Linked DNA regions of Homo sapiens: region 2 is linked to region 1. Evidence: promoter capture Hi-C in 16 types of primary human blood cells and fetal thymus (Javierre and others, 2016). All regions are on one chromosome and are shown on one strand. Each heading gives the region's core, a stretch centred on a gene start or on the middle of the fragment in contact. The rest is flanking DNA. Distances are from core to core; before and after follow the strand shown.

Region 1 (5,038 bases), core at 781-3,280:
ACGTTTCTAGCAACTTTATTTCAAATATAATGCAAATTTTTCCATGGGCATAAAACCCAGTTCACAATATCTGCAAGTTTTCAAAACATTAACAGAACTTTACACAATGTATAGAGTGAAAGAGTCTAAACGGGTTTATCAATTCATTCATTCAATACACATTTGTGCCCCTCCCTATATGTCAGACACCAAGACTACAGAAAAGATTGAGTCATTTGCCTGAAATAATTCACAGTCTACTCAAAGAAGAAAAAGAGAGAGAGAGTGGGAATGTGAATGCCCGAAGTGCAAAAACAGAGCACAAGTAACTTGGAGCTCACAGAAGGGGGCAATAATTATCAAGCTTCAATGACTGTTTTTGAAGTCACCAAATGTAGCACTTGGAAAAACAGGGACGGACGTAGGGCATTTGCCTATGCTTGTCAAGGCTTACAAAATGCCCAGCAGGGGCACAAAACTGATAAAAAGTTATTGATTCGAATCAAAACTCTCATTTTTTAAAATGTTAATAACGTTTTTGTCCTCTTAAACATAAAATGTTCCTTAATTTATAGTAATGAAATTCGATGTGAAAAAACAAGAATGAATGAATTTTTTAGGTGATGTCCAATAGCTAAGCAAATAAGACACTCTGGTTTTCTGAAACTAATTTCCAATTTCACCTAGTCCTGTTAAACTAAAATATGCAAATCTTAAATACGTTTTAAAACTGCACAACTTATCTGAACTAAGTCTCAAAACCTTTTGTAACCCACAACAAAATGGAAAGCCAAAACTCTTCATGGACGTAAAACAGAAAACAGCGCACGTTTATCCACGAAAACCCCAAGTTTACTACTTCCTCATTACAGAATTTCTCTTCCTGGTACAGGAGCAGGATGGTTATCAAATATTCCATGTCCTCAAATTCTCAGTCCCTGAAATCAGCTACCAAGCCTCCAAAGAACCTGGCTCGGGGAGAAAAGCGAGGAGGTCAACTTACCCAAGCCTTTGCGCCTAGGTCTTAGTGGGGAGGGCGGCACTGCCGGGACAAGACTGGGAGACTCCAGGCCGGTGGAGGGAAACGGCAACAGGAGTTTTCCACCGGGAATTAGGGGTGCAGGGCTCTGTCTCGCCACATACCCTTCGCCCCGGGGCAGGTCCGGGCCTCACAGGCGCCTCCCCTGGATCTCTGCAGCCCCGGGGCGCACGAAGACCCCCAGGGACCTCCGAAGGTTGGCGAGGTGGGCGTCCACCCAACGCAGCCTGACCCCACAGTCCCGGAGCGCCGCGGTGAGGCCCGGCCCACGGGCCGCCCTCCGGTGGACCCCACTACTGGACACAAAGGGAGGAGGTCTTCCCGGCCTGTGGCGCCCTTCCCCCGACGGCGGCTGCACCCCGGAGGGAGCCCGGCGCTACTCCGGATGCCGCTGCGGCACCTCAAGTCTTCGCGGGTCGCCGACTGCCCAGACTCCCCACCTCTGGTTCTATCCCTTTTGCCCGGGATAGAGCAGTCACGTCCACTCGCTACCTCTTCTTCTCCGCCTCTGGACAGCGGAGCAGTCAAATCCCGCCGGATCCACCCAGCCCGGACGGCGCGCGCCCGCTTATGCAAATAAACACACCCCAAGCCCCAAGGGGCGGCCACCGCTGCCGCCGCGCACTCCTGCCACGGCTCATGCCCGCGCGCGTAGAAGTGCCCGCCTACCCCGCGGACGGGGCGTGGCTAAGCCTCAGGGACGCGCCGCGTTCCCACCAATGCCGGACTCGGGCAGCGGCGGCGCGCCCGACGTGGCGCGCGCGACCCCTTCGTCCTGCCCCTCCTCCTCGGGTCCCGTCGGCCTGCGCGCGCCCGGGAGTTTGAATTTCCTCGGATTTGGAGCAATATCGCAGTGGAAGGCGCTGTGGGTTGAGGTCGCCGCCCACCTCTCCTAGGGGAACTATGGAGCTGGCAGCTGAAAGACTCAGTGAAGCAACGAGGATGCCGGGGAGAGGGAAGGGGCTGGGCTCTGGGCGGTGCCAAGTCTGTGAGGGGGCGCGGTCACCGCCCAGGGTTCCCACGAACGCCAAGGCGGCCACGTCCTGCTCCCCCTGGTGAAGAAGCTGCCCTGGGCTTGTCGTCCTAGGGTCTCCAGACATGTCTGAGGTGAAGAGCCGGAAGAAGTCGGGGCCCAAGGGAGCCCCTGCTGCGGAGCCCGGGAAGCGGAGCGAGGGCGGGAAGACCCCCGTGGCCCGGAGCAGCGGAGGCGGGGGCTGGGCAGACCCCCGAACGTGCCTGAGCCTGCTGTCGCTGGGGACGTGCCTGGGCCTGGCCTGGTAAGTGGACGCGAGGCTGCCTGGGCCGGCCTCCTGTGGGCCCCCTGCTGTTTGGGCTCCCACCCGGCTCAACATCCAGCCGGAGGTGATCCAACCTCCCAGACCTGGGCCTTCTGTGCCTCTGTCTTGACCCCAAAGGAAGGAAACAGCCCAGCCTTGTTTTTCCCTTTCGGGCGTTTCTTGTATCTCATTTCCCCCCGTGCTGGTAGCATGCCCCTATCGCTCAGAAGGAGTTGAGGCTAAGGTTTGGGAACGAGCCATTTGTTAAGAGCTGCAGATTCGGCCACGCTTTCTGAAGCTCCCGCTACACGTCAGAAGCGTTCACGTTGTTATAAACCGTTACTTCCTGTCCGCTGTGCCCCATTCCGGGACACATCTGCCCCACCCTACTCACCCCATAAATACCTAATGGAAATACTTGCAACCTTAAAACAGATCATTATGTTTGGAGACCGAGGCAGGTGGATCACTTGAGGTCAGGAGTTCGAGACTAGCCTGGCCAACATGGTGAAACCCCATCTCTACCAAAAATACGAATAATCAGCCGGGCGTGGTGGCGGGCGCCTGTAGTCCCAGTTCCTCCGGAGGCTGAGGCAGGAGAATCGCTTGAACCCGGGAGGCGGAGGTTGCTATGAGCCAAGATCGCATCACTGCACTCCAGCCTGGGCGACCGAGCGAGACTCCGTCTCAAAAAAAAAAAAAAAAGAAAACCATATCATTATGCTCCCAAAGGAGCAAACGTTATAGTAGCAGAGCTTGGAGGAGTGCTCATATTTTGATCACCGTGCATGCATTATGAATTTAAGGTCTTTTATTAAGTAAGTTACAGATTGAATATGGTAAAGCTACAAAAACATAGCACTTGTGTTCACTTAAAACTAACCAGTTGCAGTTTTAAAATCAGGTAAATGGCGATATATTGGTGTCATTAGGAAAAATGAATATTAGAAATAACCTTAAAACCAACTCGTAAAAAAAGAAAAAAGAAAAAAACCAACTTGTGAATTTTATTTTCCCAGCCTTTTTTTTTCTGGCGGGAGGAGGGAATAGCCCATTTCATTTTAATAAGATTGGCATCTTAATAGAATTTTTCTCCATTTTTCATTCATGTGTAAAGTTATTTAGTAAGACTGTTGTTAATCTTCCAGAGTGATAGAATTTTAGAAGAGACCCTGGACATCTAGACATTTTTTATGCTACTACATATGGAATTATACTTTACTGGTGACTCATCCCAAATAGTGTATTTTTCAGAGTTAAAAGATTTGTTACGGCTGGGCGCGGTGGCTCACACCTGTAATCCCAGCACTTTGGGAGGCCGAGGTGGGCAGATCATGAGGTCAGGAGTTCAAGACCAGGCTGGCCAACATGGTGAAACCCTGTCTCTACAAAAAATACAAAAATTAGCCAGGCTTGGTGGCACAAACCTGCAATCCCAGCTATTCAGGAGGCTGAGGCAGGAGAATCACTCGAAATGGGGAGGTGGAGGTTGCAGTGAGCTGGGATCGTGCCATTGCACTCCAGCCTGGGCAACAGAGCGAGACTCCATCTCAAAAAACAAACAAACAAAATTTTGTCACAATAAAGTGATTAAACGCCCTCTTCAAAAACAATAGAATTGTCAGCCTGCCGGCAGTGGCTCATGCCTGTACTCCCAGCACTTTGGGAGGCCAAGGTGGGTGGATCACCTGAGGTCAGGAGTTTGAGACCAGCCTGGCCAACATAGCAAAACCCTGTGTCTACTAAAAATACAAAAAAGCCAGGCATGGTGGCATGCTCCTGTAATCCCAGCTACTCAGGAGGCTGAGGCAGGAAAATCACTTGAACCCAAGAGGCGGAGGTTGCAGTGAGCCGAAATCGTGCCACTGCACTCCAGCCTGCAGGATGGAGCAAAACTCCTTCTCAAAAAAAAAAAAAAAAAAAGCAGATAGCATTATTTATTTTACTAATACGGAATATGTTAATTTTGATCTGAAAGGAATAAATGTACTGAATTTACTGTTTTAAATAAACGGCTCTTATGCCTTAAAATGCTTGACCTCCTTTAAGTAAATTGAAAAAAAAACCTTTTTGGGCCAGGTGCAGTGGCTTGCGCCTGTAATCCTAGCACTTTGGGAGGCCGAGGCAGGCGAATCACTTGAGGTCAGGAATTTGAGACCAGCCTGTCCAACATGGTGAAACCCTATCTCTACCAAAAACACAAAAATTAGCTGGGCCTGGTGTAATCCCAGCTACTCAGAGGTTGAGGCAGGAGAATCACTTGAACCTGGGAGGTGGAGGTTGCAGTGAGCCAAGATCTGCTACTGCACTCCAGCCTGGATAACAGAGCGAGACTTCGCCTAAATAAATAAGTAACCTTTTGTGTTTTGGGAAAGTTAGTTACTATCCTGGGATAAGCTTTAATAGAAAACTAAACTTTATGGGAATAAAATTTCCCTCACATCAGGAATTTGCTGTTAGTGATTCCTGTATTACATTGTAATGAATGTATTACATTCATTAGGAAGATTTAATTTGAACTATGTTTGCAAAATGATAACACAATGCTATATCAAAAATAATTTTGGGGGCCAGACCCAGTGGTTCATGCCTATAATCCCAACACTTTGGGAAACTGAGGCGAGAGAATTGCTTGAGGTCAGGAGTTTGAAACCAGCCTGGGAAACATAGTGAGACCGTGTCTACGAAAAATTTTTAAATATTAGCCAAGTGTGGTGGCATTCGCTGTAGTCCCAGGTACTTG
Region 2 (5,038 bases), core at 1,275-3,774, about 20 Mb before region 1:
GTGTTACAAGGTTAGGCTCTGTGAAGGTGTGCCCTGCAAAAACTATTAGGGAATTCCATTAGGCAAGACAAAGTATATATTCAGACGCTTAAAGATAGGAATATTTATTACTTCAATTGGGTGTTATAATCGGTCTCTTATCTTTTTAAATAATATATACTTTCCTTTGTATTGATGCCAAGAAGCTTATAGGACACCTAAATGAAAACTTTTAAAATGCAAAATGTTTTATATATGTAAGAGTATGGATATTTGAAAATGTCTAGTTAATGCTTTGAGTTTGTTTTGATGCTTGGCTATAGATGCAGCCAGTAACACCATACTCTTTGTCCATTTATGTACTCAGTAAACATTTACTGAGCATCTACTCGGGTCAGGCCTTGGACTAGTGCTGAATAGGACTATGTTTCTTCCTTAACTAATAAGGAAACAAACTATTTAGGTACAGCAATGCTACAGAGACCCATGTGATGCTAGAAAAACACATAGGAAGGGCACTGAATCATCCCCTGTTCTAGTTACCTAAATAAGTATACAAACTACTTCTCTATTCCTAGTTATGCCTCAGATTTTTTTTTAATTTATTTTCTTGAGACAGAGTTTTATTCTGTCACCTAGGCTGGAGTGCAGTGCTGTGATCTCAGTTCACTGCAGCCTCCACTTCCCGGGTTCAAGTGATTCTCGTGCCTCAGCCTCCCAAGTAGCTGGGATTACAGGCATGCACCACCACGCCTGGCCAATTTTTGTATTTTTTGTAGAGATGGGGTTTCACCACGTTGGCCAGGGTGGTCTCAAAGTCCTGACCTCAAGTGATCCGCCTGCCTCAGCCTCCCAAAGTGCTGGGATTACAGGCATGAACCACCACACCTGGCCTTTTTTTTTTCTTTTTCTTTTCTTTTTTTTTTTTTTGAGACGGAGTTTTGGTCTTGTTGCCCAGGCTGGAGTACAATGGCACGACCTCAGCTCACTGCAACCTCCACCTCCCAGGTTCAAGCGATTCTCCTGCCTCAGCCTCCCGAGTAGCTGGGATTACAGGTGCCCACCACCATACCCAGCTAATTTTTTGTATTTTTAGTAGAGACAGAGTTTCACCATGTTGGCCAAGCTGGTCTCGAACTCCTGACCTAAGGTGATCCACCTGCCTCAGCCTCCCAAAGTGCTGGGATTACAGGCGTGAGTCACCATGCCTGGCCTCAAATTTGTCTTGTAGCTGAAGACCCGTCATTTAAACTTGTTACTCCATAGGATGGACAACAACAATAACAATTGCTGAATGAGTGCTTGTTAGGTGCTAGGTATTACAATACATGCTTTATATAATGAGTATCTCAACGAACCTCTATAATGGATATTTGTGTAGATTCACATACATATTCTTACATAGACTTTACAGGGGTGTATACTGATGTTCAGAGAGGTTAGGTGGTTTGTTCAAGATCTGTGGCAGAACCTGGACTTAAACTCAGTTCTATGCCTGTGTTTATAACTGTTGGGCCATGTACCCCTCATTGTGAAGATTGGAATTAAATAACTCTGTACTGTTCTATTAGTGCCTACAGGATAAGTGCTACGTGGCCCCAAGATGTCATTCATATATGACAATACAAAAGCTGGTTAGATAACATGGCAACAATAAAAAGTTGTGGACTATTCAGTGAAGTTATGGGCTATTCAATACAGTTTAGGATTTTTAAAAAATCATTTTAGGCATGCAAAATAACTATCAGATTTTATTCATTTGAAATAATAATTTTATGTTATATTGTGAGTCTCACAGTGACTTTGTAAGGCATTATATCCTCACTTTGTAGATGAGGTTATGAAGGCTTAGAGAAGTTCAGCTGCATCCTAAAGACGCCACAGTTAAGTAAGAGAGTTAAGTGACTTGGCTGAAACCTAGATTTGCTGATTGAAAGGTCAGAGCTCTTTTCCTTTATACCACAAATTGAAGCTGTCATTTGGGGCATGAAACTAATAACTGTTTTTTGTGTTTTTTTTAATTTAGATAAAATTTTATGATATAAAACTTACCTTTTTAAATTATGAAATTCAGGTTTTTAGTATATTTGTGATGTTGTTACAATATCTAACCTCACCACTATCTAACTCTAGAACATTTTCATTACACCAAAAAGAATTTTGTACCTGTTAGCAGCCACTCTCAATTATCCCCAACCCCTGGTAAGCACTAATTTACTTTCTGTCTCTATGGATTTGCCTACTCTGGACATTTTGTATAACTGGAACAAGACAATATGTGTCTTTTTGTGTCTGACATCTTCACTTAGCATAATGTTTCAAGATTCATCCACATTGTAGCGTACATCAGTGATGATTCCTTTTTATGGCCAAATAATATTTCATTATATCTGTGTGCCACATTCTGATTATTCAAGAGTTGATGGATATTTTGGCTGCTTCTACTTTTTGGATATTAATAATGTTTCTGTGACAGTAAATATACAAGTTTTTAAATGAACATATTTTTCCATTCTCTTGGGTATATACCTAGAGTGGAATTGCTCATAATTACTTTTTGTAAAATAATTAAAATGAAAATGCTTTGAAATGATTTGAATCAGCCAGCGCGGTGGCTCATGCCTGTAATCCCAGCACTTTGGGAGGCCAAGGTGGGCGGTCACCTGAGGTCAGGAGTTTGAGACCAGCCTGGGCAACATGGTGAAACCCCAACTCTACTAAAAATACAAAAATTAGCTGGGTGTGGTGGTGAGCACCTGTAATCCCAGCTACTCAAGAGCCTGAGGCAAGAGAATTGCTTGAACCGCCTGGGAGGCAGAGGTTGCAGTGGGCCAAGAACGCGCCACTGCACTCCAGCCTGGGCAACAAGAGTGAGACCCGGGCAACAAGAGTGAGACCCGGGCAACAAGAGTGAGACCCGTTCTCAAAAAAAAAAAAAAAAAAAAGAAATTATTTTTTTTCTCCCCCCTCACAAAAACACACATAATATTGTGTATTTAGCTAATTCTTATCCCATATCTTTTCTTCAGAAATAAGGCAGAGGCTGGGCGCAGTGGCTCACGCCTGTAATCCCATCACTTTGGGAGGCTGAGACGGGTGGATCAAGAGGTCAGGAGATCGAGACCATTCTGGCTAACATGGTGAAACCCTGTCTCTACTAAAAATACAAAAAATTAGCCAGGCGTGGTGGCGGGCACCTGTAGTCCGAGCTACTCGGGTAGTTGAGGCAGGAGAATGGCGTGAGCCCGGGAGGCAGAGCTTGCAGTGAGCCAAGATTGTGCCACTGCACTCCAGCCTGGGTGACAGAGCGAGACTCCGTCTCAAAAAAAAAAAAAAGAAAGAAAGAAAGAAATAAGGCAGAAGCAGACTTAGACTTTAGCTCAGAGGCTGGACAAGTAGTCTTTAATTCCAGATGAATAGTCTGTGTTTAACACTGCCTCCTCCATTGAAGGCACTATGGAAAGCGAATAAGAATCCTGATGCAAGTCATATTCAATTAATGGAATTAAGAAAGGTCCATGTCCTTTAAAGGCAAAATAGAATGACATCAAGGTCAGCAAGAAGCTGTCAGGTACTTTCTATACATGAAGAAGGAAGAGATTACTTCCGTACTAGGGAGATGGGGTAACATGGAGATGGAGTTTGAACTGAGTCTTGAATTGTGGATACCTTTTCAGCAGGCGTGGTGGACATAATCAATGTATTTTTTGGCCTACAGACATAGTGAACAAAATGTAGGATATTCAGGGATAGTGGCAAATCAAAAGCCTTAGAGCCACATAACAGGAGGTTTGAACTTTGAACAGTAGATAGTGAGGAACCATTTAAGATATTTGAATAGAAAAGACTGATGCAATCAGAGCCTTTGAAAGATTACTCTATCAATAGTTTGTAGAATGACTTAAAGGAAGAAAGAAATTGAGAATGAGAACTTGGACTAGTAGTGAGGTTCTGGAACTAGGACAGCCTCAATGGAAAAGGAGAAAAGCAGCTTGTGAGAGATTTATTGAGGGCATTAACGGCTTGGCATAGAGAGCTAAAAGAACAGGAGTGAATCAGATAAATGAGAGAAAGTGCAGGGTAGAGAGGGGAAGCTCAGCACAGAATTTTGTGTTAAGAGGTTGAGAGAAGTAGGATAAGCCAGAAGAGGTGGGTTGGAAAGAAACTCCTAGAGGACAGTGCCACACAAACCAAGAAACAACCTTGTAAGGAGATGCGGCATAGAGGTTATGGAAGGATATGACCTGAGAGGACTCCTGTTGGACTTGGAAATGAGGAGGCTGGAGCTAGTGAGTTGCCAGAGCATCTTCCTGTCAGGAAAAGCTCCCCCTCCTCCCCTCAATAAATGATACCTTGAGCATGCTGTAGGCCAAAAGGAGGAGTTGGGAGAGAGGAAGCAACTGCGGATTGAAGAAAAATGAGAGGGGTGCATTAATGAAGTGAGAAGGTAGTAGGATAAAGAATTAAGAGGTCATTTGGACTGGGCCTTGTGGCTCACACCTGTAATCCCAGCACTTGGGGAGGCCTAAGTAGAAGGATTGCCAGAGCCCAGGAGTTCAAGCCTAGCCTGGGCAATAAAGTGAGATCTCATCTCTACAAATGATAATTTTTTTAAAAAAATTAGCTGGGTGTGGTGACACGTGTCTGCGGTCCCAGCTACTCAGGAGGCTGAGGTGGAGGATCACTTGAGCACGGGCAGTCAAGGCTTCAGTGAGCCAGGATCATGATCGTGCCACCGCACTCTAGCCTGGGTGACAGAGCGAGACCTGGTCTAAAAAAAGAAAAAAGGCCTATTGTTGGACAGAAGTGCTTGGCCTGATAAAGGAAAACTGAAGGAGGAAGACGAATGCATATACAGAGAAATTTTTAAATTGAGGAAGCTTACATAATGGCTTCACTGTAAAATTTATACTATTATTGCTTATTAGTAGTACCTACAGATAGAATAGTAACTACAGATAGACAAGTTAGATTTAGAAAATACCTTGCATTATCTCAGGCACATGTAGAAAGATTAAACTTTCCATTCTGTATAAATGTTTCATTCTTTTAGCTATGC

The links. Contacts are between HindIII fragments. The CHiCAGO score rates a contact against its expected background, and 5 or more counts as called.
Region 2: a fragment that was not itself captured here is called in contact with the fragment with the promoter of IKBIP in region 1 in 1 of 17 cell types (M0 macrophages); the score reaches 6.5 in M0 macrophages.

The regions. Positions count from the first base shown.
Region 1 is chr12:98,641,780-98,646,817 of GRCh38, reverse strand. IKBIP (IKBKB interacting protein) reads left to right here and starts at 2,030. Exons shown (of 3, transcript NM_153687.4): 1 at 2,030-2,295. The coding sequence starts at 2,117. APAF1 (apoptotic peptidase activating factor 1) reads right to left here and starts at 1,528. Exons shown (of 27, transcript NM_181861.2): 1 at 983-1,528. RefSeq lists silencers at 1,124-1,333, 1,654-1,853 and enhancers at 1,430-2,057, 2,058-2,684, 2,685-3,312. The HindIII fragment of the contact is 4,349 bases long and covers 346-4,694 here.
Region 2 is chr12:118,346,732-118,351,769 of GRCh38, reverse strand. All of the region lies in intron 1 of TAOK3 (TAO kinase 3), which reads left to right. Among named protein-coding and RNA genes, the nearest start is that of TAOK3, 24 kb to the left of the region's middle. The HindIII fragment of the contact is 4,674 bases long and covers 188-4,861 here.